Regions from separate parts of the Homo sapiens genome. Here regions 2, 3, 4 and 5 are each linked to region 1. The links are contacts of gene promoters, found by promoter capture Hi-C in blood cells and fetal thymus (Javierre and others, 2016). All regions are on one chromosome and are shown on one strand. Each heading gives the region's core, a stretch centred on a gene start or on the middle of the fragment in contact. The rest is flanking DNA. Distances are from core to core; before and after follow the strand shown.

Region 1 (5,159 bases), core at 1,512-4,011:
AACTTTCTTCTCATTTGGATCTGAGCTCTAAAATCATCTTCTTAGAGAAGCCATCCCTATGAAAAGAAGCCCCTCCCTCTTATCATGCCTTTGTTTCCTTCAGCACACTTAGCATACTTCATAAATATCTTGCATGTTTACCAGTTTTGCCACACTATAACATATATAAACAATTTTTGGTAAAGTTAATTTTATTTTCACTCGAGTACTGTTAATCATCAAACTCACAAAATCTTATTTGAGGCCAGGTGTGGTGGCAAAACCCTGTGTCTACAAAAAAAATACAGAAAATTAGACGGGCGCAGTAGCATGTGCCTGTGGTCCCAGTTACTTGGGAGGCTGAGGTGGGAGGATTGCTGGAGCCCAGGAGGCTGAGGCTGCAGTAAACCAGAGACTGCGCCACTACATTACAGCCTGGGTGATAGCAAGACCCTGTCTCAAAAAAACAAACAAACAAACAACAAAACCCTAATTTGAAAATGAAAATACTTACTTGCATCAACCATTGATTTATATTCTAAGAGTTGTTGTTTTGTCTGTGCTCTCAGCCTGAAAACAGATAAAGAGAATATAAAGTCACATATTTATTGATTAAGGTTTTACTCATTACCACATGACGAACCAACTCATTCTTTTTCGGAAGCTGATACAACAAAATAAATATAAATAATTAAACTCCTAATTACAAACTTCTAATTTGGCCTCATTTTATTTAAAATGGGTATAAAGAACTTTAAGGCCTCAGAGGAAGACACAAAATGGAATACACTGGGAAAACAGCATCTGTCAGGAAAAGTTAAAAAATTGGTGTTTAAGATTTTTTTCTTTTTTTGAGACGGAGTCTTGCACTCTTGCCCAGGCTGGAGTGCAGTGGCGCAATCTCGGCTCACCACAAGCTCCGCCTCCCGGGTTCACGCCATTCTCCTGCCTCAGGCTCCCAAGCAGCTGGGACTACAGGCGCCTGCCACCATGCCCGGCTAATTTTTTGTATTTTTAGTAGAGATGGGGTTTCACCGTGTTAGCCAGGATGGTCTTGATCTCCTGACCTCGTGATCCACCCGCCTCGGCCTCCCAAAGTGCTGGGATTACAGGCGTGAGCCACCGCACCCGGCCGCTTAAGATTATTTTTAATAGGCCAGACTGAACTGAGGATGCTATACAAAGAATAGACCAAAATGATTAAACCCCAAACCACTGTATTTACAAACACAGATTTTTATCAGGAGATACAGAAAAATAACAAAGATACTAATCCTTGGATTACTAATTCATATAGTTTTTCAGTTGTTCTATAAATCCAAAAATCATACATAAGTAGAAAAACTATGAGCAAATGGTAATTTAAGATGACAGCAAGGGTGAGGAGGAAAAAACAATAAAAAAGAAATAGACATCTTTTCATTTTTCAAAACATTTAAGAAAGAAAAAAATGGTAATTAATTTTTTTTTTTTGAGTCAAGAGTCTTGCTCTATTGCCCAGGCTGGAGTGCAATGGCACAATCTTCTGCTCACTGCAACCTCTGCCTCCCGGGTTCAATCAATTCTCTTGCCTCAGCCTCCTGAGTAGCTGGGATTACAGGCGCCCGCCACCACGCCCAGCTAATTTTTGTATTTTTAGTAGAGACGGGGTTTCACCATGTTGGCCATGGTTGGCCAGGCTGGTCTTGAACTCCTGACTTAAGGTGATCCGTCTGCCTCGGCATCCCAAAGTGTTGGGATTACAGGCGTGAGCCACCGCGCTCAGCCAATAATGATTTTTTTAAAACTACCTCTGTTATGATATAGAACAGAGGACCGCAAATTTTTTTCTGTAAAGGACCTGATAGTAAATTTTTTAGGGTTTGTGAGTCACACGGTCTCTGTTTTAGCTACTCAATTCCACCCTTGTGGCAGGAAAGTTGTACTCCAATAAAACTGTTTATGGAAACTGAAACTTGAATTTCTAATAGAGTTCACGTGTTATGAAATATTTTTATGATCTTTTCCCTGCAACACTTAAACATAAAAACTATTCTTAGCTTGAGTGGTCACACAAAAATAGGCAGTTAGGCAGATTTGGCCCAGGACCTTCTCCTGCTCACTAGTTTAGAAGACGAATGTCCCTTCTCATCGAATCTTCCCCAGCAACCGCTTAGTGGAAAAGTATAAACACCGTCCGCTTAGTAGAATTTATAACATATAAAGCTTCTGGGTTACAAAGGGTCGTAGTTCTAAAAGAAATGGTAGGGGCACCTTCCTTCCAGTTTAGCTCTGGCATTCAATTTGTCTGTAAACCAGAGAGGTAGGGGGAGGGCGGGGAAACAGGAGGAGAAATTACAGCTTCTAAGGGCCCGGGGCACTGTGCTCAACACTTTCCTAGACTATCTCATTTAACCCTTGTAACCTCTCTCCAGGGGGTCATTTTTCTCTCCTTTTCGCTGATGAAGAAAGAGCTTCAACAGTTTAAGTGAATGAGGCAATCACGGAGACCTGACGTGACCGAGCGTGAATTCGAACCCTAGCCCTTCTGAGCAAGGGCGGAGTTCCGGGCCACAACGCCCACTTGGCCCCGGCTGAGGAGGCCAAAGGGAACAACCTGAGGAGCAGGGTCATGCGGTCCTCGCTGCACGCCGCCTGGGCGCCGGCGACCTGCGGTGGCCCGCCTGCCCGGCCTTCCCCTCCGGAGTCCGCGGGCTCGTCGGCGTCTTGCATCTGGGGCTGCTCCTCCATTGCTGGTTGAGGGGAAAGGCTACCACTCAACAGGCAAACGCGCTCAGAAAAGGTCGCTTTTCCCGCCACTAAATGGACGCCGGGAAAAGGCCCGAGGGCCCCGCCCCTTCCGCCCAGGGCCCCACCCTTTCCGCCTTGTTTTTCGGTTGCCGTGGTTACTACGGGCTCCTCTTTCATCCGGGCTCTACTGGTGAAAATAACTGCAGACGGCTGGTAAAAAGTTGGAATAGCTTTCGTTAAGCGTCGGATGTGTAGAGTGCTGAGTTAGGGGCTGGACTAGAGACGTTGGGACATCTCCCGGGAACAGCAGCCTGGAGGGGAAAAATCTCCTGACCTAAGTGGTCATTCGGCCTTGGCGCTTGGACACGGGAGTGCGGCGACAGCCATATGTCCATCCATCTTGGCACTTTTCCGTCCTCTGCCTTTGAAGATGGGTGTGCCCGGCAGGCTGTGAAAGATAAACATTAGAGGGTTGTTTAGAAGACTTTTTTGACCTGAGCCCATGAGGTGCATACCCTTTGTTTGGCGGAGAAACCAGTGGCTTCTGAAGATCAGGGACGGGCCACAAGTGCGAGGCATTGCAGACATTTCGAACCCAGACTTCCAGCCTGGAGACATCCACACGCTTCCAGTTTCTTGCACTGGTACTTCATTCTGTCATTATGATTGCCACCACTCGTAACTGAGAGTTGCGTGCCCTCAAGTTTTGAGTGTCTGCAGGGTACCTTTGAGCTTTCTTAGCTGTGTAGTGAGTGGGGGGAATGGAGAAAATGAAGGACAGATGACTGATTTGTAGTTTTTCATTTGGACACTGTCCTTGCCGCACAAGCACAGCAGCTTGAACCTCTTTGAACAAGAGTCGAGAGTTCTTTTACAGCTAATTACCCACTAGTTAAACTTGATCATACTGTGCTGTTTTCTTCCTCTCCATTGTCAATGTAATACGGCTCCTGACAAAAGTTAAATTCGCTGGGCGTGGTGGCTCACCCCTGTACTCCCAGCACTTTGGGGGCTGAGGCGGGTGGATCACCTGAAGTCAGGAATTCAAGACCAGCCTGGCCAACATGGTGAAACCCCGTCTCTACTAAAAATACAAAAGTTAGCTGCGTGTGGTGGCGGGCGCCTGTAATCCCAGCTACTCAGGAGGCTGAGGCAGGAGAATCGTTTGAACCCGGGGGGGCGGAGGTTGCAGTGAGCTGAGATCGCGCCACTGCACTTCAGCCTGGGTGACAGAGTGAAACTCCGTCTCAAAAAAAAAAAAAAAAGCCGGGCGCTGTGGCTCACACCTATAATCCCAGCACTTTGGGAAGCCGAGGGGGGAGGATCTCGAGGTCAGGAGTTGGAGACCAGCCTGACCAACATGGAGAAACCTCGTCTCTACTAAAAATACAAAATTAGCCAGGCGTGGTGGTGGGCACCTGTAATCCCAGCTACTGGGGAGGCCGAGGCAGGAGAATCCTTTGATCCCGGGAAGCAGAGGTTGCAGTGAGCCGAGATCACACCAGAGATGCACGCCAGCCTGGGCAACAGAGCAAGATTCCTTCTCGAAAAACAAACAAACAAACAAAAAAACAGTTCAAAAGACACAGAATGGACTGGTGGCGATGGCCCACGCCTGTAATCCCAGCACTTTGGGAAGCCAAAGCGGAAGGATCGCTTGAAGTCAGGAGAACAGCCTGGGCAGCATAGTGAGACCTCGTTTCTACTTAAAACAAAAACAAACAAACAAACAAAAAAACAACAGGTGTGGTGACTTAGACCTGTGGTCCCAGCTACTCAGGAGGCTGAGATGGGAGGATCACTTGGGCCCCAGCCGTTGAGGACTGCAGTGACCTATGATCGCACCACTGCTCTCCATCCTGGGTGACAGAGTGAGACCCTGTCTCAAAAAAAAAAAAAAGCACAGGATGTAAAATCAGGCATTAGGTTTGCTATTCCTACATGTAAACTTATGGAACATTTTCTTGTTTCCTTTCATTTTGTTTTACAAAAAGGATGATCCCATTGTTAACTTTTTCTCTTTACCACTTAGTGGATGCCTTCCACTGTCTCACCACAATCTTATCCTTTTAAGCAGTTGCCTATCAGGTGTCTCCACTGCTCACATTTGGGACAAAAATAATGCAATGTGCAGTCGCTCACGCCTGTAATCCCACCACTTTGGGAGGCCAAAGTGAGCAGATCACCTGAGGTCAGTAGTTTGAGACCAGCCTGGCCAACATGGTAAAACCCCATCTCTACTAAAAATACAAAAAAGACTGTCTCAAAATTTTTTTTTATAAAAATAATAATGCAATGGTTATCCAACCGTGAGAATTCGGAGGAGACCTTGTTAAAACACATTTCTGGGTGTCTCTAGGATTGTTTTGCATTTGTAACAAGTTCCCAGGTAAAGTTGCTCTTGCTTATTGAGGAGGACACTTTGAGAACCACCACCATAAAGGGTCATA
Region 2 (5,159 bases), core at 1,240-3,739, 2.4 Mb before region 1:
TGCCCGGCATCAGAGCAACTGCCAGGGATACAAAAATGTCAAAGATGTATATTTTTGACCTAAAAGGATTAAGTAAGGGAAAATGCAGAGAAAAGAGCCAAGGATGACATCAAGTCCTAGGGAAAGAGCAAGGTAGTGCTAGCAGTAGATGGGAACTCAGGTGAGGGAACAAATGAGTAGGGGAAGTTAATGTGTTCAATGTCTAGTTTGAACCTAAGTCTGAAAAGACAGAGGAAAAAGTGTTTTTCCTACTGTCTGACACAGTCACTCAATACCTCTGACACCAGATATGTGGGGGTATTTCTCCACACACCAAGCAGTTCTCCAGCAGACACCAGCTGTCCTCTAATCCAATTCAGTTCTTACAGTCTACCTAGAGACAGCATCAGATCCCACAGACTAAGGGCTCAGTCCTACAAGATGGCCCTCACTTCAGATGCCAATCCACAAGGAGCAGGTTGTCACCTATATTTCTGATTGACTGTAAATCAGGGCTGCCACTACCCATCCTTGGGTTTGACTAATTTACAAGAGTGGCCCACAGAACTCAGGGAAACACTTTACTTACATTTACTGGTTAGGAAGGATATCATAAAGGATACAGATGAACAGCCAGATGAAAAGATACATAAGGCGAGTCTGCAAAGGTCCTGAGGGCTGGAGCTTCTGTCCCCGCGGAGTGGGAATGCACCACCTTCCTAGCACTTGGATGAGTTTGCCAGCACAGATGCTCTCTGAACACCATTTAGGGATTTTTATGGAGGCTTCATCACAGAGGCATGGTCAATTATTAACTCAATCCCCAGCCCCTCTCCCTCCCTGAAGGATAGGGCTGGGACTGAAAGCTCCAAGTTTATGGTCATGGCTTGGTCTTTCTGGTGACCAGCACCATCCAGGAGCCCACTAAGAGTCGCCTCATCAGAATAAAAGATGCTCCTATCACCCAGGAAATTCCAAGGGATTTTGGAGCTCTGTGACAAGAATGGGGGTCAAAGACCAAATCATAGAACAAAAGATTCTTCTAGTACCCCTATCTACAAGGGTATTAGGAACTCTGTCGGAGGAACTGGGGCAGACACCAAATATTGGAACAAAAGAGCCTCCTAGTGCCCCTACTGCTCAGAAACTTATGAGGATTTTAGGAGCTCTGTTCCTGGAACTGGGGACAGAGATCAATGTGTATATTTCTTATTATTTCATACTAAGGTACCAGCAGGAAATTGACTGAGAAAGCAGAACCCCCGAGGTTCAAAAGTAGAGATGTAGAGGTGGTCAAGACTAGATAAAGATCAGGGAGATGACAGGTAATGAGATCTGGCTAAATCGTTAAAATAAATAAATAAATAAGGGCACCCCAGTGGCATGAAGCATAAGGAGAATTTCACGAAAAGGAAAAAAATGATGATACCAAGAGGCTGTGCAGAGTGGGAATCTGGTCTCTAGGCTGGTGAAACTCTCGTAGGGCATGGAGGTTTGAAGGAGTGAGCAGTTAGAATGAAGACAATGTGCCAATCCTTAAGAATGTTGGCTGGGCGCGGTGGCTCACGCCTATAATCCTAGCACTCTGGGAGGTCGAGGTGGGTGGGTCACCTTAGGTCAGGAGTTCAAGGCCAGCCTGGCCAACATATGGAAACCTCATCTCTATTAAAAATACAAAAAAGTTAGTCAGGCATGGTGGTGCATGCCTGTAGTCCCTGCTACTAGGGAGGCTGAGGCAGGAGAATTGCTTGAACCCAGGAGGTGGAGGTTGCAGTGAGCCGAGATCGTGCCACTGCACTCCAACCTGGATGACACAGTGAGACTCCATCTCAAAGGGGGAAAAAAATGTAGCCACCCAGGTAGGGAGAAAAGCTTCAAAAACAGCAGAAGCTAGAAAAGGTCTTTATCTTTTGGCATCATTTTAGTGTTCTTTTTTTGTTTCCTTTAAAGAAAAGGTATCAACGTGATTTTGGGGTGTGAGAAGAAAAATAAGCAGATAAAAAATTTTTTCATTTTTAAAAGATGGGGTCTGGGCTGGGCACAGTGGCTCATACCTGTAATCCCAGCACTTTGGGAGACCAATGCGGGCAGATCACTTGACCTCAGGAGTTCGAGACCAGCCTGGGCAACATAGTAAAACCCCGTCTCTACTAAAAATACAAAAATTAGCTGGGCATGATGGCATGTGCCTATAGTCCCAGCTACTCGGGAGGCTGAGGCAGAAGAATCCCTTGAGCCTGGAAGGCGGAGGTTGCAGTAAGCCAATATTGCACGCCACTGCACTCCAGCCTGGGGACAAGAGCAGGACTCCATCTCAAAAAAAAAAAAAAAGAGAGAGAGAGAGATGGGGTCTCACTATGCTGGCCACGTTAGATCTTAAACTCCTGGCCTCAAGCAATCTCCCACCTTAGCCTCCCAAAGTGCTAGGATTAGAGGTGTGGACCACCGTGCCTTGCCCAAGAAAATTAATTAGAGTAAGAGAAAGGGAATAAATGATGAAGCAAAAAGGAGAGGTTAGTATTAAAATCATAAATGACGGGTTTAGGTTTTGAGAAGAGGAGAAACATAGCCTGACATCTTCAGTGCAGATATCAGGTTTAGGCTCATATATTCAGGAAAGGCTCAGAACAGATACTATGGAAACTTAAAAATACGGTTCATTAAAATATGAGAAGGCAAACCTTAACCCTAAACCTCCTTTCCTATTTAAGGGAAATAGAAAAAAATAAAGGCTAAGAGAAGTAGCTCAAAGAAATACTGATATATGTGTGTGTGTGTGTGTGTGTATTATATACGTTATACATAATATGAACCATATATATATAATATGAACTATATAATATGAATTAGATATATAATATGAACCTCTTGGAATTTAAAAAGAAATTTCTGTTATCATATATTGAGTCTCCATAGTATCTTTTCTGACCCCTTCCTGAATATATGAGCCCTAAACCTGAAATCTGCACTGAAGATGTCCGGCTATGTGTGAGCACTTTTCTTCATACTGAAAACACTAGTACTTACTCCACCTTCCTTCTCTGATATATTATATATTATAAATATATGTATATTTTCTTGAGACAGTGTCTCATTCTGTCACTCAGGCTGAAGTGCAGTGGTACAATCATGGCTCACTGAAGCTTCAACCTCCTGGGCTCAAGTAATCCTTCTGCTTCAGCCTCCCAAACAGCTAGGACCACAGGTGTGTGCCCAGGCTGGTCTCACCTGGGCTCAGGCAATCCTCCTGCCTTGGCCTCTCAAAGTACTGGGATTACAGGCATGAGCCACCACGCCCAGCCCTAATATTTTTTAAAAAACAAAAATAAAATAAGTAAAAGGAAGACAGTCATTCAGTCAAATGCCCTTCAGACATTTTGAGTTTTTTATCATAAGCAGGTATTGCTTATTCCAAGAAGTAAGTACACTTTTGATTTTTAAAAGATCTGATTTTAAAGCACTTTAAACTTCAAAGTTCCACAGGAATAGAGACTCCACCTGGCAGCAGAAAGACACAGCAAAGAACATGTTAGATGATAGAGGGCTATAGTGCTTAAATAGTAGCCTCCCCCAACAAAAGATAAAAAGATATAGCCATATCCTAATCACCAGAATCTGTAAAGATGGTCTCATTTGAAAAAGGAATCTTTGCAGATATAATTAAGAATCTTGTGGATTACCTGGGTGGTCCCTAAATCCAGTGACAAGTGTTCTTATAAGATAGAGAAGGAGAAGACCCAGATACCCAGAGAAGGTCACGTGAAGATGGAGGCAGACATGGGAGGGAGGTAGCCATAAGCCAGGGGAATACCTGGAGCCACCAGGAGCTGGAAGAGGCTAGGAAAGGAACAGAATGTCCCCTGGAAGCACAGCCCCGCTGCTGCCTTGACTGCAGAGTTATGGCTTCCAGAACTTCACAGAATAAATTTCTGTTAGCCAAGCATTGTGGCTCACACCTATAATCCCAGCTACCCACAAGGCAAAGGTAGGAGGATGATCTGAGGCCAGGAGTTCAAGACCAGCTGGAGCAACATACCAAGACATTCATCTCTAAATAAATACATAAATTGCTGTTGCTTTAAGCCACTCAATTTGTGATAATTTGTTACAACAGCCCTAGGAAACTAATAAAAGGTAAGCTATAAAAATTGTAACACCAGGCCCAGCATGTTGGCTCAGGCCTGTAATCCCAGCACATTGGGAGGCTAAGGCAGAAGGATCCTTGAGGCCAAGAATTTGAGACCAGCCTGGCCAACATAGCAAGATCCTGTTTCTCTAAAAGAAAAAAATATAATACCAGATTAAATGGAGACCACAATACGAATTTCATATAGATAATGCAACGGCCATCTGTGCAAAAGTAAGCAAAGCCGAAGTTTCTATTTAGATAAATAAAGCATATAGGTAGGCATGGTCACTGTGTAACAGTAAAATATACCATAAACAATTACAACCAACTATGTTGATAGAAAAATCAAAAAGATATATAATAATTGCAAGTATAGATTAATCAGAATATTAATAAAAATATGACAAACTTAAATCCAATAAAGAAATGAAAACACAATAGCAGCATCTGTATTATAAATATTCCAACCATGCAAAAAAAATTACAGAATAACAAACATCCATTAGCCTAATACCTAATCTTAATAAACCTTGACATTAAGCAAAATTTACTTCAGATCATTTTTTTAAGGAATAAAGTATTTGACCAGGCGCGGTGGCTCATGCCTGTTATCCCAGCACTTTGGGAGGCCGAGGCGGGCGGATCACGAGGTCGGCAGATCACGAGGTCAGGAGATCGAGACCATCCTGGCTAATGTGGTGAAACCCTGTCTCTACTAAAAATACAAAAAATTAGCCGGGCATGGTGGTGGGCGCCTGTAGTCCCAGCTACTCAGGAGGCTGAGGCAGGAGAATAGCGTGAACCCGGGAGGCAAAGTTTGCAGTGAGCCGAGGTAGCACCACTGCACTCCAGCCTGGGCAACAGAGCAAGACTCCATCTCAAAAAAAAAAAAAGAAAAAAAAAGGAATAAAGTATTTGAGATATAGTTGAAGCGCCTATCTACCTCCTACCTCATCCCTGTCTCTTCCTTCCCACCTCAGAGGCAACCACTGTTCTAAAGCTGAGTGTATCGCTCCCACGTGCATGTTTATACACAAATAATATACAGTAG
Region 3 (5,159 bases), core at 1,330-3,829, 2.4 Mb before region 1:
GTGCCAGCATGGCTCACTACAGCCTTGAACTCCTAAATTCAAGTGATCCTCTCACCTCAGGCTTCCCAGCAGCTGGGACTACAGGCATGTGCCACCACTCCAGCTAAATTTTTGTGATGAGGTCTCACTCTGTTGCCCAGGCTGGTTTCAAACACCTGGCTTCATGCAATTCTCCTGCCTTGACCTCCCAAAGTGACAGGTGGGTCATGCCTGTAATCCCAGCACTTTGGGAGGCTGAGGTGGGTGGATCACTTGAGGCCAGGAGTTTGAGACCAGCCTGGACAACATGGTGAAACCCCATCTCTACTAAAAATATGAAAAATTAGCTGGGTGTGGTGGTGCATGCCTGTAGTCCCAGCTATTCGGGAGGCTGAGGCGGGAGAATCGCTTGAACCCGGGGGGCCAAGGTTGTAGTGAACTGAGATCGCGCCACTACACCCCAGCCTGAGTGACAGAGCAAGACTCCGTCTCAGTAAAAAAAAAAAAAAAGAGAGAGACTTAAGACAACATCACTCTTTAGCAATTCTGTCTAGAGTGGGGCCTTACAATTTGGAGCAGCTGGTGAATTCTGGTTTTATTAGGAAGAACCAGAAAGAGGGTTATCCTTGATGCAGGCTCACAGAGCACATAATTAAGCTCCCCTGACATTTAATTCTTGGCAAAGCTGTGACAGCCAAGTTTGTCCTTTCCCCCTTCTCCCTACCTCCTTCCCCAGGGAGTCCGGCTCAGTCCTCTACCCTCCTGTGGCCACCAGCCTGCACCACGGTTCCTCAGCATCCACCATCCCCAGCAGGCACCTGATGCCACAGGACTCCTCAACCCTCCATTGAGTCAAACCCACCTCTTTTTTTTTTTTTTTTGAGACGGAATTTCGCTCTGTTACCCAGGCTAGAGTGCAATGGCACCATCTTGGCTCACTGCAACCTCCGCCTCCCAGGTTCAAACAATTCTCCTGCCTCAGCCTCCCGAGTAGGTGGGATTACAAGCATGCGCCACCACACCCAGCTAATTTTGTATTTTTAGTAGAGACAGGGTTTCACCATGTTGCTCAGTCTGGTCTCGAACTCCTGACTTCATGTGATCCGCCCACCTCGGCCTCCCAAAGTGCTGGGATTACAGGCGTGAGCCACTGTGCCTGGCCCCAAAACCCACCATCTTAATGTCTAAGGGGGACAGTGAGTTCACCAAATCAAACTCTCAAAATGGGCATAACAATTGAGTTATCACCCCTAACAAAACACTTTCATTTCAGCAAGAGTTTGAATTCTTTTTCTGGAGACAACACCTTGATCTAAAATGGCTTCAAAAGTATGAATTCCATAGCTGCGTACAGGGGCACAGGTACAGTCTCAGCTACTTGGGAGGCTGAGGCAAGAAGATCACTTGAGCTCCCGACTTCGAGTCCAGCCCGAGCAACAGAGTGAGGAGACCCTGTCTCTAAATAAACTAGTAAATAAGCAATTCTAGACCATACTTTCCAAATCCAGTCTTCTTCACTATTTTTATACTCCTGAGATCCAGTATTTAAACTACTCTAACCTAAATGTAAAATTTTACATTAAAAGTATTATATACAATTTTAAGTATTATATACTTGTTGATAAAAGTTATCTGAAACAGTCTATCAAATATGAAGAATGCTTTCCATCTGAGATTCAGCACTTAGGGAGGAAATATTAAATGCCTACTAAGAAATCACTGGCCAGGTGTGGTGGCTCATACCTGTAATCCCAGCACTTTGGGAGGCCAAGATGAGAGGATCGCTTGAGCCAGGGGTTCAGTCCAGCCTGGCAATAGAGCAAGAACCCATCTCTTAAAAAAAAAATTAATAAAAATTAAAAATAAATTATTTATTCATAAAATTTATGAATTTGAATCTTTACTTTTCCCCCCAAAAGTGGTAGTACTCTATGAAGAGAAAAACTGGCCAAGTAATAGGAAAAATAAAATTAAATGCCTGCATACCAACAAATGCATAGTCTTAAGAGTCAAAAGCTCAGCCAGGAGTAGTGGCTCACGCCTATAATTGCAGCACTTTGGGAGGCCAAGGCAGATGGATCACTTGACATCAGTAGTTCAAGACCAGCCTGGCCAACATGGTGAAACCTTGTCTCTATTTAAAAAATACAAAAATTAGACAGGCATGGAGGCAGGCACCTGTAATCCCAACAACTTGGGAGGCTGAGGCAGGAGAATGGCTTGAACCCAGGAGGCGGAGGTTGCAGTGAGCTGAGATGGCGCCACTGCACTCCAGCCTGGGCAAGAGAGCAAGACTCCATCTCAAAAAAAAAAAAAAAATATCAAAAGCTTAATTCCAGTATTTTTCCTAAAAGCAATAACTATTTTAGGACATCTTAAGTAAAGGCATAAGCTGTGGAATAAATGCTGTGTTTACCTAGTTTTATATGCTCCACTCGTTCATGGAGCTGATTTACTAGTGCTTTCATCTGCTTGTAGTTCTCCTAAAACAGAAATAGAGGAGACAGGGGAGAGAAATATTAGAAAGCAATTCCTTTTTACCAAAATAAAGGTCAAAAAAAAAAAAAAAACAGTGGTCTGTGCCAACTCTGTGTGGCCGCCACACTGGGCCACCCCATCTGTGGCAGCCACGCTGGGCCACTGGATCGTATGGAAAAGATTCACCCCTGCCTGTCTTGTTCAAGCTCTTCTTCACCACCCCACTTGTCCATCTCTCCATATCTTACTCCTCTGTAAGCCTAATTCATGTTTTATCTCATCTTCAACTCTACTTCTGGCCACTCCTACTCAATTTAACATCTTTCTTCCTTAAACACCTTCTGAACTTAAACTGATCTCTATTTGTTTTCCTATTTTAAGGAATATAAGCTTTTTGAAGGTTAGAATACCATCTTATTTTTCCTGTCCCATCAGTCACTATCTGAGATTCCAACCAATGCTTGCTTACTGACAAAGTACACTTAAAAACAAATCCCAGAGGGAGAAAAAGGATCTTATTTTTATTTTTAATTTTGTATTTTTATTTTTTGGGACAGAGTCTCCCTTTGTTGCCCCGGCTGGAGTGCAATGGTGCAATCTCGGCTCACTGCAACCTCCGCCTCCCGAGATCAAGCGATTCTCCTGCCTCAGCCTCCTAAGTAGCTGGGACTACAGGTGTGTGCCACCATGCCCAGCTAATTATTGTATTTTTAATAGAGACCGGGTTTCGCCATGTTGGCCAGGCTGATCTCAAACTCCTTACCTCAAGTGATTTGCCCATCTCGGCCTCCCAAAGTGCTGGGATTACAGGCATGAGCCACCGCACCTGGCCAAGGATCCTATTTTATGTTTTAAAAAGAACAGGCTGAGTGTGGTGGCTTATGTCTGTTATCCCAGAGCTTTGGAAGGCGGAGGCAGGAGCATCGCTTAAGCCCAGGAGTTTGAGACCAGCCTGAGTAACATAGGGAGACTTCCATCTTTACAAAAAGAATAAAAATAAAAAGAATAAAAATTTAAAAATTATCTGGGCATGGTGGTGTGTCCCAGCGACTTGACCAACTAAGGTGGAAGGATCTCTTGAGCCCAGGAGTTTGAAGCTGCAGTGAACTAGGATCGTGCCATTGTACTCCAGCCTGGGTGACAGAGCAAGACTGTTTCAAATAAATAAATAAATTAGTAAAAAGAACAAAACTCGGCCAGCCGTGGTGGCTCACGCCTGTAATCTCAGCACTTTGGGAGGCCGAGGCGGGCAGATCACCTACGGTCGGGAGTTCGAGACCAGCCTGACCAACATGGAGAAAACTCGTCTCTACTAAAAAATACAAAATTAGCCAGGCAAGGTGGTGCTTGCCTGTAATCCCAGCTACTCGGGAGGCTGAGGCAGGAGAATCCCTCGAACCCGGGAGGCGGAGGTTGCAGTGAGCCAAGATTGCATCATTGCACTCCAGCCTGGGCAACAAGAGCAAAACTCCATCTCAAAAAAAAAAAAAAAAAAACAGAACAAAACTCTATGCTGGCATATATACACAAATTAAGTAATACACAAGGAAATATTGACAGTGAGAAGTAGAAAAGAGGTAGAGGGACTAACTTTTCACCCTTCTGTATTTTTAAATTTTGTTTGGTCAGCATATTACTTTAGAACAATACTTAACTAGCTAATTATCTTTGAAATTCAGACTTGGCCCACTAATACATTTTGCTCCCCATGTGATTAGCATCTCTAGTTATTTAGTTCCTTCTGTTTGACAGAACACTAAGCAACTTCCTAACTGTTCAAACTTAGATGAATATTCAGTCTACAGTATATCTCCATTATTTCCTATTTTCTACAGCTCCAAGAGCTCTGAGGGTCATGATTTCTGCTACATTCTCTTGCTCTGCAAAATCCAGAAAATAAAAAACAAGGAAGCAGCATGGTATTAGGGAAAGAACCAGTTGGAGCTAACACAATATACAGAACTTGTCACCCTACAACAGCAGAAAAAAGTATGTAACTTTTCTCAAGTGCACAGGCAACATTCTCCAAGATAGACTACATGTCAGGCCACAAAACAAATCTTAATAAATTTTAAAAGACTGAAATCATACAAAGTATCCTTTTTTTTTTTTTTGAGACGGAGTCTGGCCGTGTCGCCCAGGCTGGAGTGCAGTAGCACAGTCTCAGCTCACTGCAACCTCCGCCTCCCGGGTTCAAGCGACTCTCCTGCCTCACACTCCCAAGTAGCTGGGATTACAGGCGTGCGCCACCATGCCCAGGTAATTTTTTTATTTTTAGTGGAGACAGGGTTTCACCATGTTGGCCAGGCTGGTCTAGAACTCCTGACCTCAGGTGATCCACCAGCCTCGGCCTCCCAAAGCGCTAGGATTACAGGCCTGAGCCACCATGCCTGGCCCAAAAGTATCCTTTCAATCACAATGGAATGAAACTAGAAATCAATGGCAGAAGGATGACTGGAAAATTCACAAATATATGGAAATTAAACAACGTACTTTTAAGCAACCAGTGGGTCAAAGAAGAAAAGCACTGACCCACTGAAGCTGACATTTGCCTCTACAGACTGGGCAACATCTGTGCCAAGCTCAGCCCATCAGACTTAAATCACAGAAGAGCCAGTACTGGCTACAGTTCACCTCCCAGGCAATCCTTTATCAACCAACCTAGCCTCCTTAGGATGAGACTCACTAACCAAGAGGCAGTG
Region 4 (5,159 bases), core at 1,640-4,139, 2.3 Mb before region 1:
CTGTTTCTTACTGCTTCTTTTATTGTTGCCACTATCTTAGTTAACTCTGATTCATTTCAAATTACTCAGAAACTATCATGAATGCTTACACAAAACTGACTCAGATATGCTCCTCAGTAAGCCAAAGAAGTGACTGAAAATTAAGGCAGAACAGAAAACTTTGAAGTTACAAAGTTGGAATGGCAGACTAACAGGCAAAAGTGTAAGGAAGCTAAATATGTTCAACACGTTTCTCTAGTTCACAACCCTTAGGATGATTACTAGCCAAAGTTACAACATAGCTACGACTGGTGAGGATGTAGCGAAACTGCAATGCTTGTACACTGTTGATAGGGATGTAAAATGATAACAGCCCTATGAAAAACAGTATAAAGGTTGCTTGAAAAGTTAAGTATAGAATTAACATAAGATCGAGGCCGGGTGCAGTGGCTCACACCTGTAATCCCAGCACTTTGGGAGGCCCAGGCAGATGGATCATTTGAGGTCAGGAGTTTGAGACCAGCCTGGCCAACATGGTGAAACCCCACCTCTACTAAAAATACAAAAAAATTAGCTGGGTGTGGTGGCAGGTGCCTGTAATCCCAGCTTCTTGGGAGGCTGAGGCAGAAGAATTGCTTGAACCTGGGAGATGGAGGTTACAGTGAGCCAAGATTGCGCCACTGTACTCTACTCCAGCCTAGGCAACAGAGACTCCATCTCAAAAAAAAAAAAAAAGAATTAAAAGAATTACCATACGATCCAGCAATTCCACTTCTGGGTATATCCCGCAAAAAGTAAAAGCAGAGATTCAAAGAGGTATTTATACAACTATGTTCATACCAGCATTATTTCTAACAGCCAAAAGGTGGAAGCAACCCAAGTGTCCATTGATGATAAAGGAATAAACAAAACATGATACACACACACAATGGAATATTATTGAACCTCGAAAATGAAGAACACTCTGACATAAGCTACAACATAGATGAACTGTGAAAACATTATGCTAAATGAAATAAAATGGTCACACAAAAAAATACTGTATGATTCCACTTACATGAGGAGTCAAATTAAAGAGACAAGATGTAGAAAAGTGGTTGCCAAAAGGTTAGGGGGTGGGAGGAATGGAGAGTTACTGTTTAATGGGTATAGAATTTCAGTTTTAACAAAATAAAAAGAGTTCGCCAGGGGTGCAAGGCAGACCTGAGAGTGACCAGGCCAGACGGCATAGAGATGGGGCTCAAGGGACAGGTGTTGGGTGTTTGTATCTTGTATCTTGGTTTTTTGCCAGGCTAGGGGACAACCACTCATTGCGGGATGTCTTAATCATCTTAAAAAAGAACGCAGTAGCTCGTGCCTGTAATCCCCGCACTTTGGGAGGCCGAGGCAGGAGGATTGCCTGAGCTCAGGAGTTTGAGACCAGACTGTGCAACATAGCGAAACCCCATCTCTAAATTAATTAATTTTAAAAAAGAGTTCTGTGGATGGATGGTAGTGATGGTAGCATGACAACACGTACATGTGAATGTTCTTAATGCCACTGAAGTGTACACTTAAAAATGAGTAAGATGGCTGGGCATGGTGGCTCACGCCTGTAATCCCAGCACTTTGGGAGGCCGAGGCAGGTGGATTGCTTGAGGTCAAGAGTTCAAAACCACCCTGGCCAACATGGTAAAACCCTGCCTCTACCAAAAATACAAAAATTAATCAGGCTTGGTGGTGCACACCTGTAGTCCCAGCTACAGGAGGCTGAGGCAGGATAATCACTTAAACCTGGGAGGTGGAGGTTGCAATGAGCCAAGATCCCACCACTGCACTCCAGACTGGGTGACAGACTGAGACCCCGTCTTTAAAAAAAAAAAAAAAAAAACAGAGAGAGAGATAGTAAATTTTATGTTACATGTATTTTAGCACTCTTCTTTTTTTTTTTTTTTTTTTTTGAGATAGAGTCTCGCTCTGTCTCCCAGGCTGGAGTGCAGTGGCACGATCTCAGCTCACTGCAACCTCCGCTTCCCGGGTTCAAGCAATTCTCCTGTCTCAGCTTCCCCAGTAGCTGGGACTACAGGCACCTGACACCACGCCCAGCTAATTTTTGTATTTTAGTAGAGACAGGGTTTCACCTTGTTGGTCAGGCTAGTCTCAAACTCCTGACCTCAGATGATCCACCCACCTCGGCCTCCCAAAGTGCTGGGATTATAGGCGTGAGCCACCATGCCTGGTCCAAATCAAAAAAAAAAAAGTATGTCCCTTCTAGCTTCTCTATCAACCAGAAAACACCAAAATGTTTGAAAGATTAATCAGAGGTTGGCTGGGCTGGTCTCCAGCTCCTAACCGCGAGTGATCCGCCAGCCTCGGCCTCCCGAGGTGCCGGGATGGCAGACGGAGTTGCGTTCACTCAGTGCTCAATGGTGCCCAGGCTGGAGTGCAGTGGCGTGATCTCGGCTCGCTACAACCCCCACCTCCCAGCTGCCTGCCTTGGCCCCCCAAAGTGCCGAGATTGCAGCCTCTGCCCGGCCGCCACCCCGTCTGGGAAGTGAGGAGCGTCTCTGCCTGGCCGCCCATCGTCTGGGATGTGAGGAGCCTCTCAGCCTGGCTGCCCAGTCTGGAAAGTGAGGAGTGTCTCTGCCCGGCCGCCCCGTCTGAGAAGTGAGGAGACCCTCTGCCTGGCAACCGCCCCATCTGAGAAGTGAGCAGCCCCTCCGCCCGGCAGCCACACCGTCTGAGAAGTGAGGAGCCCCTCCGCCCAGCAGCCACCCCGTCTGGGAAGTGAGGAGCGTCTCTGCCCAACAGCCACCCCGTCCGGGAGGGAGGTGGGGGTCAGCCCCCCGCCTGGCCAGCCGCCCCGTCCGGAAGGGAGGTGGGGGGTCAGCCCCCCGCCCGGCCAGCCACCCCGTCCGGAAGGGAGGTGGGGGGGTCAGCCCCCCGCCCGGCCAGCCGCCCCGTCCGGGAAGGAGGTTGGGGGGTCAGCCCCCCGCCCGGCCAGCCGCCCCATCCGGGAGGGAGGTGGGGAGGTCAGCCCCCCGCCCGGCCAGCCGCCCCGTCCGGGAGGGAGGTAGGGGTGTCAGCCCCCCGCCCGGCCAGCCGCCCCGTCCGGGAGGGAGGTGGGGGGTGTCAGCCCCCCGCCCGGCCAGCCGCCCCGTCCGGGAGGGAGGTGGGGGGGTCAGCCCCCCGCCCGGCCAGCCGCCCCATCCGGGAGGTGAGGGGTGCCTCTGCCCGGCCGCCCCTACTGGGAAGTGAGGAGCCCCTCTGCCCGGCCAGCCGCCCCGTCCGGGAGGGAGGTGGGGGGGGTCAGCCCCCCGCCTGGCCAGCCACCCCATCCGGGAGGTGAGGGGCGCCTCTGCCCGGCCGCCCCTGCTGGGAAGTGAGTAGCCCCTCTGCCCGGCCACCACCCCGTCTGCGAGGTGTACTCAACAGCTCATTGAGAACAGGCCATGATGACAATGGCGGTTTTGTGGAATAGAAAGGGGGGAACAGTGGGGAAAAGATTGAGAAATCGGATGGTTGCCGTGTCTGTGTAGAAAGAGGTAGACATGGGAGACTTTTCATTTTGTTCTGTACTAAGAAAAATTCTTCTGCCTTGGGATCCTGTTGATCTGTGACCTTACCCCCAACCCTGTGCTCTCTGAAACATGTGCTGTGTCCACTCAGGGTTGAATGGATTAAGGGTGGTGCAAGATGTGCTTTGTTAAACAGATGCTTGAAGGCAGCATGCTCGTTAAGAGTCATCGCCACTCCCTAATCTCAAGTACCCAGGGACACAAACACTGCGGAAGGCCGCAGGGTCCTCTGCCTAGGAAAACCAGAGACCTTTGTTCACTTGTTTATCTGCTGACCTTCCCTCCACTATTGTCCTATGACCCTGCCAAATCCCCCTCTGCGAGAAACACCCAAGAATGATCAATAAAAAAAAATAAATAAAAAATAAATAAATAAAAAATAAAAAATAAAAAAAAAGAAAGATTATCAGAAAGTAGACTAAACAGCTTCCAGGTACAAGTGTAAGCAGATTTCTCTCGTTGTTACACTGACTCCCTTGCTGGGCCTGGGCCATAGGGACTGAGCAATCACAAAAGGTTATACAAGGCCCCAAATTATATTTGGTAGAGGTTATTTAGAGAATGAACTCTTCAAATCCTAATAATCACTACGAGAAGAAATAATGATCCCCTAAAAGAAACAAGAGGTGAAAACCAAGTAAGATAAAGTACCAAGGTTTTAAAAAAAAACCGAACCTCTTCCATTGTTTCCTCAATCTGAGCAGAAACAGGTTCAGGAGATCTGAGACCAACAGGTACAAATACTGGAGCTTTGTTTACTTCTTCGGGAGCAAGATGATAGCTTTCTTCCTCATAGTCAGACTCAAAATCGTCAGCATCATCATCTTCTTCCTGGGAAGCCCGAAGAGTCACCAGCATGGCCTTGGAAGCTCTAGGTTCCTTCTTAGAGGTCTTACCCCGAACTCGTTTTGATCCACGACCTCTGGTGACATTTGGTTTGAACTTTTTATGACTTCTCCTTTCACCACGATTTCTCTCATACTCAGATGTAGAAGAGATAGTTGTTTTCCCATCCAGGGCAATTTTAGAGTAACTTGTTTCGTTTAACGGTTGTGGACAGCTAGATATTTAATCAAAACAACAATAAGGTCATATGCATGCAAGGATAATTTTAATGAAAACCAAACTTTTAGAGTGAAATTCCAGTTCCAGTCATTAAAATGAAAATTCCCACCACCCATTCTTTTAAAATCTTATGCTGTGAAAATAAAAAAGGAATTAACTACTAGTTTCTCACTCAGAGTTAATTCTTAGTTATCTACCTACAAATTTTTCATAGTAAGTTTTTAATTCTGGACCATTCTTTCCTGTAATATGAAAGTGAAGATAAAATAAACACAAAACTGAAAATTATTAGAAGAAAAAGGGATAAAAGACACAGAACCGGCTGGGCGCAGTAGCTCACGCCTCTACTCCCAGCACTTTGGGAGGACGAGGCAGGCAGATCACTTGAGGTCAGGAGTTCAAGACCAGCCTGGCCAACATGGTGAAACCTGATCTCCACTAAAAATACAAAAATTAGCTGGGCACGGTGGTGCACGCCTGTAATCCCAGCTACTCGGGAGGATGAGGCAGGAGAATCACTTGTACCTGGGAGGTGGAGGTTGCAGTGAGCCGAGTCAC
Region 5 (5,159 bases), core at 934-3,433, 2.3 Mb before region 1:
TTTTTTTTTTGAGACAGAGTCTTGCTCTGTCGCCTAGGCTGGAGTGCGGTGGCACGATCTCAGGTGGCTGAGGCAGGAGAATCACTTGAACCTGGGTGGCAGAGGTTGCAGTGAGGCAAGATCGCGACACTGCATTCCAGCCTGGGCGACAGAGCAAGACTCCGTCATAAATAAATAAATAAATGTATGTATGTATGTATGTAAGTATGTGGGTGAAGGGAAGCTTATATTAAGGCTCATGTACTTGCTTACCAAAAATGTGAGGAGGAATCAGAGTACTTACATCTCTATCAGCACAGGATTCATTTTCATTCTTCTCTACATTGGCCCCAATTTCTTCCTGTGATATGAGAATTTCTTTTCTTTCAGCAGCTTTACCTGCATTTGGCTTTGGCTTTTGCAATCGGCCCCTCACTTGTACAGGTCTTAAAGCCTTTAGTTGACTCCCTTCCTGCAGACAATTTTTTTCACCCAAACTAGAACCACAAAGAAATAAAATTAATGTTTATTTTGAAGTCACCAATTTCCTTCTCCCTGGCATGAATAAGTAAACCATTTGGAATATGAAATAATTCACAAGTTTCCTGAAAAGACATAATCCGCCCGGGCGCAGTGGCTCGCACCTGTAATCCCAGCACTTTGGGAGGCCGAGGCGGGCGAATCATTTGAGGTCAGAAGTTCGAGACCAGCCTGGCCGACATGGTTAAACCTGTCTCTACTAAAAATACAAAAATTAGCCAGGTGTGGTGGTGGGCGCCTGCAATATCAGCTACTTGGGAGGCTGAGGCAGAAGAATCGCTTGAAACCGGGAGGCAGAGGTTGCAGTGAGCAGAGACTGCACCACTACGTGACAGAGCGAGATTCCATCTCAAAAAAAAAAAAAAAGAGAGAGAAAAAAAAAGACATAATCCTGGAAGCCCTCTTGAAAAAGCACTTTTAAATAGAATTTTATTACAAAATTGGAAAAATCTACATCTGCCAAGCATAGAATACTACTCCTGACTAAGGATACTATAGAATAATGTAGAACTCCAGGGGATTAGTCCCAAATCATAGTATAAATGGTAACCCCTGGAAGAGCCCAGAATCCACCAGTCAGATTCACATTCTATTTTAGATTTCTATTTCAAGTTAAATATTCCCTTTTAAAATCTCTTAGTATAAATAAAATTATCCAGGGGCATATACTGTAAACATTCAAATGTAATGGCTAACTCAATAGACTCATAAAATTTATATAAGCAATATCAAGCAGAGAGAGTATTATGAATGTTTCAAAACCACCTATGGTTGAAAACGAACTTAAAGTATGCTGCTTGAAAATTAAATTCAGACCTTATTAAGTAGAAAACAAATTATTACCATCATTCCTAAGAGTTACTTTTTTTTTTTTTTTTTTTTACTACTTCCTGAATACTCACACAGATACAGTTTCAGCTTCTGGATTCTCTCTCTCTGTAGTCTCCATTCTCAAAATGTCCAATGTATTCATTTTATCTTTTTCCACGTGGTTCTGTGAATTTAATTTGCTACAATTTATCTACTTACAATAAACAGTTCAAACTTTGTAATAAACAAATGGAAATTAAAACAACAGAACTGGCCGGGCACGGTGGCTCAAGCCTGTAATCCTAGCACTTTGGGAGGCCAAGGCAGGCGGATTGCCTGAGCTCAGGAGTTCAAGACCAGCCTGGGGAACATGGTGAAACTGTCTCTACTAAAATACAAAAAATTAGCCAGGCATGGCAGCGTGTGCCTGTAGTCCCAGTTACTTGGGAGGCTAAGGCAGGAGAATTCTTTGAACGCAAAAGGTAGAGGTTGCAGTGAGCCGAGGTCACACCACTATACTCCAGCCTGGGTGACAGAGTGAGACTCCATCTCAATAAATGAATAAATAAGAACTTCATTTTTTGTACTTCTAACTAGAGGAGATTTTCTAAAAATCCTAAATGCAGATGAGAATTTTTTTTTTTTTTTTGAGACAGGGTCATGCTCTGTCGCCCAGGCTAGAGTACAGTGACATGATCATAGCTCACTGCAGCCTTGACCCCCAAGGCTCAGGTGATCCTCCCACCTCAGCCTCCTGAGTAGCTGGGACTACAGGTGCACACTATGCCCAGCTAATTTTTTCATTTTTTGTAGAGACCAGATCTTGCCATGTTGCCCAGGCTTGTTTCAAATTCCTGGGCTCAGGTGATTAGCCCGCCTCAGCCTCCCAAAGGGCTGGGCTTACAGGTGTGAGCCACCACACCTGATGTACATTTTTTTTTTTTAAGAAAAATGGAATCACACTAAATATTTCAGAAAAATATTTCTGAAATGTTAATTACCAAAGGATACAAAACTGTATTGAAACCATGATTCAGTTGTGTAAAAGAAAATCTGTAAGGAGATATGTGAAAAGATTGGTTGCAAGGGAATAATGAAATTACAAGTATTAGAAGGAATGGCTGGGCATGGTGGCTCACGCCTGTAATCCCAGCACTTTCGGAGGCTGAGGCAGGTGGACCACCTGAGGTCAGAAGTTCGAGAGCAGCCTGGCTAACATGGTGAAACCCCGTTTCTATTAAATATACAAAAAATTAGCCGGGCATGGTGGCGCATGCCTGTAATCCCAGCCACTCAGGAGGCTGAGGGCAGGGGAATCGCCTGAACCCAGGAGGCGGAGGTTGCTGTGAGCCGAAATCACACCATGCACTCCAGCTGGGGCAACAAGAGTGAAACTAAACCTCAAAAAAAAAAAAAAAAAAAAAAAAAAGAAACAAGATTACAACACTTCAAAGAAAAAAAGGTAAAGAAAAAAATTACAAGTAATTTTTGTTTTAACTTTTACATGAATCTGTATTTTCCAAATTTTCTACAATTCAATAAACATAAGATTAGAATAATGTAACTGTACTATAAAGATTATGATAAAAGATATTTCACAAAACAGGAAAAGAAGCAAACCAACATCTTAAAAAGTGTTTTAGTTTAAAAAAAATGGTAACAATAGAATTCTGGAAAAGTTATAAGGAAACAGAAAGATTCATTTAGCAATGTAAATAGATTATTTATGACTGTCAGTTTCACAATGCATAACAATTCAGGAGACTCAGACATACCAGAAAATTTTTTAAAGTAATAAAAATAACAAATAACAAAAGACAATGCATAACAAGAATCACAAAAATATTTAAAACATTATTTGACCCAACGATCCCACCCGTCTCTAGAAATTTATACTTTGTTTCCTTGAGAAAGCCTTACTTACAAAATTGTTTGCTTCTAATGTACAAGAGTTAAAAAAACAAACAAAAATAGAAACAATCTGAACATCCATTAGTAGAGAACTGATTAGGTAAATCAATAACATGTTAACATGACACAGCTATTAAAAAGATCAATTGGACCCAAAAAAATGTAAATTAATAGTTTCAGAGGAAAAGGGTTTTTTTTTAATTTTTTATTTTTTTGAGACAGAGTTTCGCTCTGTTGCCCAGGCTGGAGTGCAGTGGTGCAATCTTGGCTCAATGCAACCTCTTCCCTTCCGGGTACAAGTGGTTCTTTTGCCTCAAACTCCCGAGTAGTTGGGATTACAAGCATGTGTCACAATGCCCAGCTAATTTTTTTGTATTTTTAGTAGAGATGGGATTTCGCCATGTTGGCCAGGCTGGTTTCAAACTCCTGGCCTAAAGTAAGCCACCAGCCTTGGCCTCACAAAGTGCTGGGATTACAGGTGTGTGCCACCGTGGTCAGCTGAAAAAGGTTTTGGCAGGGCACGGTGGCTCAATATGGTGAAACCTAGTCTCTACTAAAAATACAAAAATTGGCTGGGCATAGAGGCGCGCGCCTGTAATCTCAGCTACTTGGAAGGCTGAGGCAGGAGAATCTCTTGAACCCAGGAGGCAGAGGTTGCGGTGAGCCGAGATCACGCCATCGCACCACAGCCTGGGCGACAGGGCGAGACTCCGTCTCAAAAACAAAACAAAGAAAAGAAAAAGGTTTTAAACATTATACACATTATGGTTAAAAATTATAGAAATGTGTGCATACATAGATAAAGTTATTGGCCAGGCATGGTGCCCTCATGCCTGTAATCCCAGCATTCTGAGAGGCCAACGCACACGGATCACTTGAGGTCAGGAATTCAAGACAAGCTTGGCCAACATGACAAAACCTCGTCTCAACTGAAAATACAAAAATTAGCTGGGCGTGGTGGTGCATGCCTGCAATCCCAGCTACTTAGGAGGCTGAGGCACAAGAATAGCTTGAACCTGGGAGACAGAGGCTGCAGTGAGCCAGGATCATGCCATTGCACTCCAGCCTGGGCGACTGGGCGAGATCCTATGTCAAAAAAAAAAAAAAAAGACGGCAGGCGTGGTGGCTCACGCCTGTAATCCCAGCACTTTGGGAGGCTGAGGCAGGTGGATCACATGAGGTCAGGAGTTCGAGACCAGCCTGGCCAACAAGGTGAAACCCTGTCTCTACTAAAAATACAAAAATTAGCCAGGCATGGTGGCAGATGCCTGTAATCCCAGCTACTTGGGAGACTGAGGCAGAAGAATTGCTTGAACCTGGGAGGCAGAGGCTGCAGTGAGCCAAGATCGTGCCACTGCACTCCAGCCTGGGCAACAGAGCAAGACTCCATCTCAAAAAAAAAAAGAAATAAAGAAAGAAAAAGAATAAAGAAATTTATTGACCAGGTGAGCTGGCTCATGCCTATAACCCCAGCACACTGGGAAGCTGAGGCAGGAGAATCACTTGAGGCCAGGAGTTAGAAACCAGCCTGGTGAACACAGTGAAACTCCATTCCAAATTTTTGCTAACTTAAAACAGAAAATCAGGCCGGGTGCGGTGGCTCACGCCTGTAATCCCAGCACTTTGGGAGGCCAAAGCAGGCAGATCACGAGGTCAGGAGACAGAGACCATCCTGGCTAACGCGGTGAAACCCCATCTCTACTAAAAATACAAAAAATTAGCCGGGCATGGTGGTGGGCACCTGCAGTCCCAGCTACTCAGGAGGCTGAGGCAGGAGAATGGCGTGAACCTGGGAGGCAGAGCTTGTAGTGAGCCAAGATCACGCCACTGCACTCCAGCCTGGGAGACAGTGAGACTCCGTCTCAAAAAAAAAAAAAAATTATCTGGGTTTGGTGGCACACACCTGTAGTCCCAGCTAC

The links. The method cuts DNA at HindIII sites, captures the fragments that hold promoters and counts their contacts. A CHiCAGO score of 5 or more calls a contact.
Region 2: a fragment that was not itself captured here is called in contact with the fragment with the promoter of CENPH in region 1 in 1 of 17 cell types (non-activated CD4 T cells); the score reaches 5.9 in non-activated CD4 T cells.
Region 3: a fragment that was not itself captured here is called in contact with the fragment with the promoter of CENPH in region 1 in 10 of 17 cell types (total CD4 T cells, non-activated CD4 T cells, naive CD4 T cells and 7 more); the score reaches 21.3 in total CD4 T cells.
Region 4: a contact is called between a fragment that was not itself captured here and the fragment with the promoter of CENPH in region 1, in 2 of 17 cell types (activated CD4 T cells and total CD4 T cells). The highest score is 5.9, in activated CD4 T cells.
Region 5: a fragment that was not itself captured here is called in contact with the fragment with the promoter of CENPH in region 1 in 7 of 17 cell types (total CD4 T cells, activated CD4 T cells, total CD8 T cells and 4 more); the score reaches 8.7 in total CD4 T cells.

The regions. Positions count from the first base shown.
Region 1 is chr5:69,187,185-69,192,343 of GRCh38, reverse strand. CENPH (centromere protein H) reads right to left here and starts at 2,761. Exons shown (of 9, transcript NM_022909.4): 1 at 2,576-2,761; 2 at 494-549. The coding sequence starts at 2,709. It overlaps LOC112267932 (a long non-coding RNA gene), which reads left to right and starts at 2,867. Exons shown (of 2, transcript XR_002956215.2): 1 at 2,867-3,353. RefSeq lists a silencer at 2,710-2,829 and enhancers at 2,688-2,982, 2,910-3,149. The HindIII fragment of the contact is 12,435 bases long and covers 2,187-5,159 here.
Region 2 is chr5:71,611,636-71,616,794 of GRCh38, reverse strand. All of the region lies in intron 6 of MCCC2 (methylcrotonyl-CoA carboxylase subunit 2), which reads right to left. Among named protein-coding and RNA genes, the nearest start is that of MCCC2, 27 kb to the right of the region's middle. The HindIII fragment of the contact is 1,271 bases long and covers 1,854-3,124 here.
Region 3 is chr5:71,590,229-71,595,387 of GRCh38, reverse strand. MCCC2 (methylcrotonyl-CoA carboxylase subunit 2) reads right to left here. Exons shown (of 17, transcript NM_022132.5): 2 at 2,396-2,462. Among named protein-coding and RNA genes, the nearest start is that of MCCC2, 5.5 kb to the right of the region's middle. The HindIII fragment of the contact is 540 bases long and covers 2,310-2,849 here.
Region 4 is chr5:71,523,376-71,528,534 of GRCh38, reverse strand. It overlaps BDP1 (BDP1 general transcription factor IIIB subunit), which reads right to left. Exons shown (of 39, transcript NM_018429.3): 25 at 4,212-4,596. Among named protein-coding and RNA genes, the nearest start is that of MCCC2, 61 kb to the left of the region's middle. The HindIII fragment of the contact is 8,080 bases long and covers 1-5,159 here.
Region 5 is chr5:71,497,916-71,503,074 of GRCh38, reverse strand. BDP1 (BDP1 general transcription factor IIIB subunit) reads right to left here. Exons shown (of 39, transcript NM_018429.3): 14 at 1,422-1,513; 15 at 284-476. Among named protein-coding and RNA genes, the nearest start is that of BDP1, 45 kb to the right of the region's middle. The HindIII fragment of the contact is 3,916 bases long and covers 226-4,141 here.